3 separate regions of the Homo sapiens genome follow, and regions 1 and 2 are each linked to region 3. Evidence: promoter capture Hi-C in 16 types of primary human blood cells and fetal thymus (Javierre and others, 2016). All regions are on one chromosome and are shown on one strand. The core of a region is centred on a gene start or on the middle of the fragment in contact, and the rest is flanking DNA. Distances in the headings are between cores, read along the strand shown.

The links. The method cuts DNA at HindIII sites, captures the fragments that hold promoters and counts their contacts. A CHiCAGO score of 5 or more calls a contact.
Region 1: the fragment with the promoter of C1orf216 here is called in contact with a fragment that was not itself captured in region 3 in 2 of 17 cell types (M1 macrophages and M0 macrophages); the score reaches 5.5 in M1 macrophages.
Region 2: a contact is called between the fragment with the promoter of CLSPN-AS1 here and a fragment that was not itself captured in region 3, in 1 of 17 cell types (M2 macrophages). The highest score is 5.0, in M2 macrophages.

Annotation. Positions count from the first base shown.
Region 1 is chr1:35,717,510-35,720,240 of GRCh38, reverse strand. It overlaps C1orf216 (chromosome 1 open reading frame 216), which reads left to right and starts at 1,357. Exons shown (of 2, transcript NM_152374.2): 1 at 1,357-1,534. It also overlaps a transcript of CLSPN not described here. RefSeq lists a silencer at 1,196-1,625. The HindIII fragment of the contact is 2,001 bases long and covers 239-2,239 here.
Region 2 is chr1:35,738,041-35,740,740 of GRCh38, reverse strand. CLSPN-AS1 (CLSPN antisense RNA 1) reads right to left here and starts at 1,296. Exons shown (of 2, transcript NR_199043.1): 1 at 1,228-1,296. CLSPN (claspin) reads left to right here. Exons shown (of 25, transcript NM_022111.4): 19 at 1,212-1,376; 20 at 1,484-1,605; 21 at 2,159-2,286; 22 at 2,644-2,700. RefSeq lists enhancers at 1,003-2,202, 1,946-2,447. The HindIII fragment of the contact is 7,776 bases long and covers 1-2,700 here.
Region 3 is chr1:35,159,065-35,161,865 of GRCh38, reverse strand. No RefSeq gene overlaps it. Among named protein-coding and RNA genes, the nearest start is that of SFPQ, 33 kb to the left of the region's middle. The HindIII fragment of the contact is 4,233 bases long and covers 1-2,801 here.

The DNA of each region.
Region 1 (2,731 bases), core at 108-2,607, 560 kb before region 3:
TAATCATAAAAATTTCTTTTCCATTTTCCCTGTTTTTGCATATAGGATTTCTTGGTGTGATTTAATTTGCCAATTAGTCTCTAGGTTGCAGAATGGTGACTTGGAATCAAATTGAAACTGGAAGAGGGCACCTCATATATTAGGGTCAGCAATTACTGAACTCTGTTCTCTTTTATTCCAAACAGGGCCCCCAACTTCACATTTCCCCAGGGTGCAAAAGAGTGAGGGGGGTCAAGCTTCAGTAGAGTGGAGCTCTGAGAAGAATCCACTGGAGTTTGGAACCCAAGACCCTTTTTTATCACGCTGTTCCTCCTCACCTGGGCAAAAGCACTGGTACCCACTTCACAGGCATCATGGGTGGGCTCTGTGTCCTGCGGAGAGCCCCCGTCCCGGGTACAGGACATCAGCCCTGAGCCCTGTCCCAGGCTTGGATCTTCTTTCTCTCTCTCTCTTTTTTTTTTTTTTTTTTTTTTTTTTTTTGAGACGGAGTCCCACTCTGTTGCCCAGACTGGAGTGCAGTGGTGCAGTCTTGGCTCACTGCAACCTCCACCTCCCAGGTTCAAGCGATTCTCCTGCCTCAGCCTCCCAAGTAGCTGGGATTACAGGCGCCCGCCACCAAGCCCGGCTAATTTTTGTATTTTTAGTAGAGATGGGGTTTCACCATGTTGGCCAGGCTGGTCTCAAACTCCTGACCTCAGGTTATCTGCCCGCCTCGGCCTCCCAAAGTGCTGGGGTTACAGGCGTGAGCCACCGCACCCGGCCTCAGTGACTTTAGTCAAGTAAGCACAAAAAGGAATATATAATTCCAAATTGTGATAAATGCTATGAAGAAAAGGAATGTGCTCTGACATAAAGGGGGGAACGAACGTGATCTAGGGAGTCAGAGATCTCTCCGAGAAGAGATCTGAAATAGGAGTAAGTCGAGAGGGGGAAGAGAATGCTAGACCGAGGGAACAGTGCGTGCCAAAGCCGCGTGGCGGAAAGGGGCGTGTGGGAGGGTAACTGCGGAGAGGGAGGGTAGAGGACGAAGCCGGAGAGGCAGACGAAGGGCAGGACGCACAGAGCCCCGCGGCTACCGCCTTAGGGGTTGTCCCGGCGGTGGGGAAGCCATTGAGGAGTTTAACGCCGGAAGGTGGTGACTAATCAGATTTCACTTGAAAATGGCACGGTGTCTGCAGCGAGGCTAACTGATGGGAAGGGCCCAGCGAATGCCAATAGGAGAGAGCACCGGACCTGGAAGGCCTGGGTCAACGCGGCCCCGCGCGGGGGCGAAGCGGTTCCGGCGCAGGGGCCTGGCGCGGGGCTCCGCGGAAAACCGAACCGGCCCACGTGGGACCGGTCGCTCCGCCCTGCTGCGCAGACGCCGCCTGACTCCGCAGTCCGGGACTGGGGCTGGGCGCGCTGCCCGGGAGCCCCGCACCCACGCCTGGACCGCGGAGACGCCCAGGCCGAGGAACCCCCAGCCCAGGGACTAGACACCACCAGGGCCGGGCGGAGCCAGAGCCAGACGCGCCGGAGCGGGCGCCTCTACGCCGTGAGTCCGAGTCTGGGGCCCGAGGCGGGGTGGGGCTTGGGGCTCAGCCGCGGGAAGCGGGGAGTCACAGTGGCCTCCTTCGAGGAGACTAGGGAAGGATGGTCTCTGTCTCCTGGGGTGGTCTCCCACTCCCGCAAGGCCAGAAAAGGAGGCTGCCTCCTGTTTGGGCGGAGACCTAGTCCTGGCGTGTCGGGGTTCTCATTTTACTATCTCTGAGAACCCTGTGATCCCTAGCGCCACCCCCACCCCATCCCAGCTTCCTTCACGGCCCCATCCAAGTATAGGAAAAATAAAAAATTGGGGCGAGGGGAGATCTCTAGGCACCTTCCCACAAGCCTTGCTTAGAGGGCGATTAGAAACGAACTGTTCCTACACCCTTCTCCCCAGGACTTCTCTGCCCATTGCTGGGGGTGGGGAGGGTCCATGCCACCTATGGAGCGCCTTCCAGTGCCGGCTCCACTTACAATACCCTTCCTCTTCATGCTCTTCAATTGTTCTAATCCCAGTGCTGTTTGGTCAGTAGAATCCCTTTGTCAGTTCAAATCCTAATTTTGGTTAGAAGCAGGTTATGGAGGAGAGAAGAGTGGTGTGGTATGCCCTCCCTCCAGGGCCTCAGAATGGAGCAAGCTAGGGACGGGGACCGCAAGATAGTGGCTGTGTTCCAGAGGCATTGGGAGGGAAGGGGGCAGGCTCAGAAGAAAAGCTTGTCACTGGGGAAGGCGGGGCTCCCTGGCTGGGGTAGGAAAGGGAACCAAACCCAGCTCTTCCAGAACCCAGCTCTTCCAGCCCTGGGGAGTCAAGAGTGGATTCCTGAGCATGGAAATTCACTGCAGTCTCTTCTCCCATTCACTCACTTAGCAAGTACCTGTATGCACAGACAGCCTGGTTCAGGGCTCTATGCTGGCTGACTCTGGGGAATATGATGGAGGATATATACAGGAGGTCCAAGCCAGATTACAAACTGCTATTACAAGATCATTACCACAAACCAAAAATGCCAGTTGAATAGACATTCACTGATCGTCGACCATGTATGCCAGGGACGGATGCAAAGTTGGATAAGACAGTGTATACCCAGCGCAGTGGGGACCCAGAGGAAGGCATAACTAACCGTGCTTGTTTATGTAATATTGATTGGGGCAGTATCAAGACGGCTTCAGAGACATGGGGACATGGAAACATGGGGATATTACAGCT
Region 2 (2,700 bases), core at 47-2,546, 580 kb before region 3:
AGCTTTAAGAAAATACAGTATAGGCTGGGCGTGGTGGCTCATGCCTGTAATCCCAGCACTTTGGGAGGCTGAGATGGACAGATCCCCTGAGGTCAGGAGTTCAAGACCACCCTGGCCAACATGGTGAAACCCTATCTCTACTAAAAAAACAAAAATTAGCCAGGCATGGTGGCACGCACCTGTAATCCCAGCTACTCGGGAGGTTGAGGCATGAGAATCACTTGAACCCAGGAGGTGGAGGTTGCAGTGAGCCGAGATGGCATCTCTGCACTCCAGCCTAGGCGACAGAGCGACACTTCATCTCAAAAAAAAAAAAAAAGAGAAAATACAGTATAGGTCTTCGATAAAAATCAGTTTTCAGAAAGCCACCAAACTTCTGCCATTTTGGACCACATGGGACCAAGGTGACTTTGAATCCAGGGTGACACCAGATTTATTCTCCGGGGGAGCTGAAGTCATAAGAAGTAACTAGTCGTTTTGATTACCAGGAGCTCTGAGCCTTAGTCTTCCTTCTGATGTGGGGGTCAAGATTTGTTAGGCTGTAAGAAGATCCCAGTTTATTACCTTTCTACACCACACCATCTCTAGTTTGTCTCTTAAAGCTGGTGTGCTCAAATGCAAAATGAAATAGTTTGAACCTTCCAGCAGGTATTCTAATACATGTAAAAGAGATTAAGAGTTTTCTGGCTTTCAAATCACCCAATCTAAGTTGAATCCAGGCTCTGCTACCTTCTAGCTATGTGACCTTGGGTAAATGTAATCTTTCTGAGGCTCAATTCCCTCAACTGTAAAATGAAGAGAATAATAGTACCCATTCCTATGATAATATGTTAATGCCTGTAAAGCACAGTTATTAGCACACAAGACATATTAAGTGATCAACTTTTAAATACAGATGCTCCACATCTTACAATGGGACTATATCCTGATCAATCCATCATAAGTTGAAAATGCACTTTCATATTATCCAGATATAACTCCATCGTAAATCGAGAAGCATACTAAGTGCGTATCACATTCATGTCATCGTAAAGTTGAAAAATCATTAAGTCAAACCATCATAAGTGGAGACTATTACAAAAAAATTTAAATATTATCAAATGTATTATGTTTATTATTATTAGAAGTGACTCTGTTCTGCTTTTCTTTGCTTCCATATTCTGTGAGTATATTCATTGTTGCATTTTCTAATCCTCAAAATTGCTTTCTAGGAGGTTGAGGAAATACCTGGAGGATGAGGCAGAGGTGTCAGGAAGTGATGTGGGAAGCGAAGATGAGTATGATGGGGAAGAAATTGATGAATATGAAGAGGACGTAATTGATGAAGTACTTCCTTCTGATGAGGAACTGCAGAGTCAAATCAAGAAAATACACATGTCAGTATCCCAATAAGCCCTTCTGAGTAATAGGGTACATCTTAAGACAAGCCCTGTAACCAGCCAGAATGGTCCTTGTTTTGAACACCTTATTTCTCCTGTTGCAGGAAAACTATGTTGGATGATGATAAGCGACAGCTACGTTTATACCAAGAGAGGTACCTTGCTGATGGGGATCTGCACAGCGATGGTCCTGGGCGAATGAGGAAGTTTCGATGGAAAAACATAGGTATCTTGGTTGTTGTCTTTAAAAGCAATCAGTTACGGGCTGAGCATGGTGGCTCACGCCTGTAATCCCAACACTTTGGGAGGCAGAGGCAGGTGGATCACAAGGTCAGGAGTTCAGGACCAGCCTGAACAACATGGTGAAACCCCGTCCCTACTAAAAGTTCAAAAATTAGCAGGCTGTGATGGCACGCGCCTGTAATCCCAGCTACTCAGGAGGCTGAGGCAGGAGAATTGCGTGAACCCGGGAGACGGAGGTTGCAGTGAGCAGAGATCATGCCATTGCACTCCAGCCTGGGCGACAGAGCGAGACTCCATCTCAAAAAAAAAAAAAAAAAAGCAAACAGTTACAATGCATATTTGTCGAGTTTCAGATGGCAAATGGCAAGCAAAACTATAACAGGCTATGTGAAGACCTAGTTGTAACTGTTTTCTGTTAATGGATGGGAAAAGTTTACATCATTATATAGTAAATGATAAGGGTTTATTTTTTGTCTGTCCAAGCACCCTCTCCTGTGAGGACTGCCGAATGCTGATTACCTTCACTCTTTGTTTAGATGATGCTTCCCAGATGGACTTGTTCCACAGAGACTCTGATGATGATCAGACTGAAGAACAGCTTGATGAGTCAGAAGCCAGGTGGAGGAAGGAGCGAATTGAACGAGAGCAGTGGCTTCGGGACATGGTAGGAGTTCACCTACTCTGACCCTAGTTTATGAGACTGTCCCTTAGCTTGTCATGATAGTTTCAAAATCTTAGCTTGTCATGATAGTTTCAAAATCTTAGGCAACATATTGCTATCTCTTTTAATCCTTGAGCTATCTTTTGTGTTTTGAGAAGGCTATACCATAGACAGTTCTCTTCATGTTTGTCTAAGATTAATTTTTTTTTGTCTAAAGCAGCAAAGGCTGCAAAAAGGAAAACAAATACCCCAGGAACTCTAGTTTCACAATCCAGGCCATGCTAACTATTTAGGAAGGTTATAGACTTTTAATGCTGTATATATATATATATATATATATATATTTTTTTTTTTTTTCAGGCACAGCAGGGGAAAATTACAGCTGAAGAAGAAGAAGAAATTGGGGAGGACAGTCAG
Region 3 (2,801 bases), core at 262-2,761:
GCGCCTGCCACCATGCCCAGCTAATTTTTGTATTTTTAGTAGAGACAGGGTTTCACCATGTTGGCCAGGCTGGTCTCGAACTCCTGACCTCAAGTGATCTGACTCCTCCTCGGCCTCCCAAAGTGCTGGGATTACAGGCGTGAGCCACTGCACCCGGCCTATTTCTGTTTTTTTTTGTTGTGTTTTGTTTTGTTTTGAGACGGAGTCTCGCTCTGTTGCCCAGGCTGGGGTGCAGTGGCATGATCTCGGCTCACTGCAAGCTCCGCCTCCCAGGTTCATGCCATTCTCCTGCCTCAGCCTCCTGAGTAGGTGGGACTACAGGCGCCCATCACCACGCCCGCCTAATTTTTTGTATTTTTAGTAGAGACGGGGTTTTACCATGTTAGCCAGGATGGCCTCGATCTCCTGACCTTGTGATCCACCCGCCTCAGCCTCCCAAAGTGCTGGGATTACAGGTGTGAGCCACCGCGCCTGGCCCCTATTTCTGTTTTTTAAGCCACTAGTCTGGTATTTTGTTATGGCAGCTCTAGCAAACACATATACCATGTATGAACAGCAGTTGTTTTGTATACTTCATGCAGTTTTCTAGTTGTTTACAGCACTAAGGGAAATCTGGTACCAGTTTTCTGTCTGAGCTGGAAGCTGAATACAACAGATTTGTTTTAACAGAGACAGAACAAGTTGGAAAAAGTTATAAATAGTCACACGAATTTCCATTTTACACAGGAAAACGTAATGAACATTTTAAAAAACAGCTTAAATGAAGTAATTGATATACAATAAACTGCACATATTTGAAGTACAAACTTGATAAAGTTTGACATATGTATACACCAATAAGATCATTACCACTGTCAATCTAAATAATAAAGAGAAAGAGGCTCTCTAAAAGAAAAAGAGATTTATTCAGGAGTTACGCATTGCAATGGGAATATGTGTGCCACAGTAAACTATGTATATGTATTGAATAGGTAAAGAAAGACAAAGGTTTTGGCTGGATGCGGTGGTTCATGCCTGCAATCCCAGCACTTTGGGAGACTGAAGTGGGTGGATTACATGAGGCCAGGAGTTCGAGACGAGCCTGGTCAACATGGCGAAAACCTGTCTCTACTAAAAATACAAAAATTAGCCGGGGATGGTGGTGCATGTCTGTAATCCCAGCTACCGGGGAGACTGAGGCGGGAGAATCAAACCCAGGAGGCAGAGGTTGCAGTGAGCTGAGATCACACCACTGCACTCCAGCCTGGGTGACAGAGCAAGACTCTGTCTCAAAAAAAAAAAAAAAAAAAAGAAAAAGGAAAAAGACAGAGGAGAAAGGTTTTCAAAGGAAAAAATGAAGAGGATTACATCATTGTTTTGAAATGATATCCTTGGCTATAAAAATCCTTAACAAGGGTGTTGCCTGGCTGAGGTTGGACAGGCAGTTGCTTGGTAGATGTCTTTGCAGATGAATTTTTTGTGTAAGTTTGTGATGGCTTTTTTGCAAGGTTGTGTTTTTTCAAGGGTCTTTTGTGATAGCTTCTGTTATGAGACATACAAGCCTTCCCTGGCTCTATTTTTTTTTTTAAACACTAGTGACTCCTAGTGTTAAATCTCAATTCTAACAACTTTCACATTACAATCAAGATAAAATGGCTGCCACCCCCAAAAGTTTCCTTGTGTCCCTTAGTAATCCTTGACTCCTGTACCTATACATCCCTCCTTTGCCTCTACCAATCTACAGGCAACCACTGATCTGCTTACTTACCACTATAGGTTAGTTTCCATTTTCCAGAATTTTATATGAATAGAATCTTTGACATGTGTTTTGTGTGTGTGTATGTGTGTGTGTGTGTGTGATGGAGTCTCCCTCTGTTGCCCAGGCTGGAATGCAATGGCGCGATCTCAGCTCACTGCAACCTCTGCCTCCCGGGTTCAAGCAATTCTCTGCCTCAGCCTCCAGAGTAGCTGGGATTACAGACACCAGCCACCACGCCCAGCTAATTTTTGTATTTTTAATAGAGATGGGATTTCACCATCTTGGCCAGGCTGATCTTGAACTCCTGACCTCATGATCCACCCACCTTGGCCTCCCAAAGTGCTGGGATTACAAGCATGAGCCGCTGCACCCGGCCTCTTTTTTTTATTTGGCTTCTTTCACTCAGCATTATTTTGAGAGTCATACACATTGTTAGGTGTATCAATAGTTTGTTGGGTTCTTTTCTGAGACAGTCTCACTCTATTACCCAGGCTGGAGTGCAGTGGCATGATCACAGCTCACTGCAGCCTCGACCTCCCAGGCTCAGGTGATCCTCCCACCTCAGCCTCCCAAGTAGCTGGGACCGCAGGTGCTCACTACCATATCTGGCAAATTTAAAAAAAAATTTTGCAGGCCAGGTGTGGTGGTTCACCCCTGTAATCCCAGCCTGTGGGAGGCCAAGGCAGGGCCAATCACAAGGCCAGGAGTTCGAGACCATCCTGGCCAACATAGTGAAACTCTGTCTCTACTAAAAATACAAAAAAAAAAAAAAAATTAGCCAGGAATGGTGGTGCGTGCCTGTAGTCCCAGCTACTTGGGAGGCTGAAGCAGGCGAATTGCTTGAACCCAGGAGGCAGAGGTTGCAGTGAGCTGAAATCACATCACTGCACTCCAGCCTGGGCAACGAGTGTGTCTCAAAAAAAAAAAAAATTTTTTTTTTTTTTTTTAGCAGAGATGAGGTCTTCCTATGTTGCCCAGGCTGGTCTGGAACTCCTGAGCTCAAGCAATCTTCCTGCCTCAGCCTCCCAAAGTTCTAGGATTATAGGTGTGAACCACCATGCCT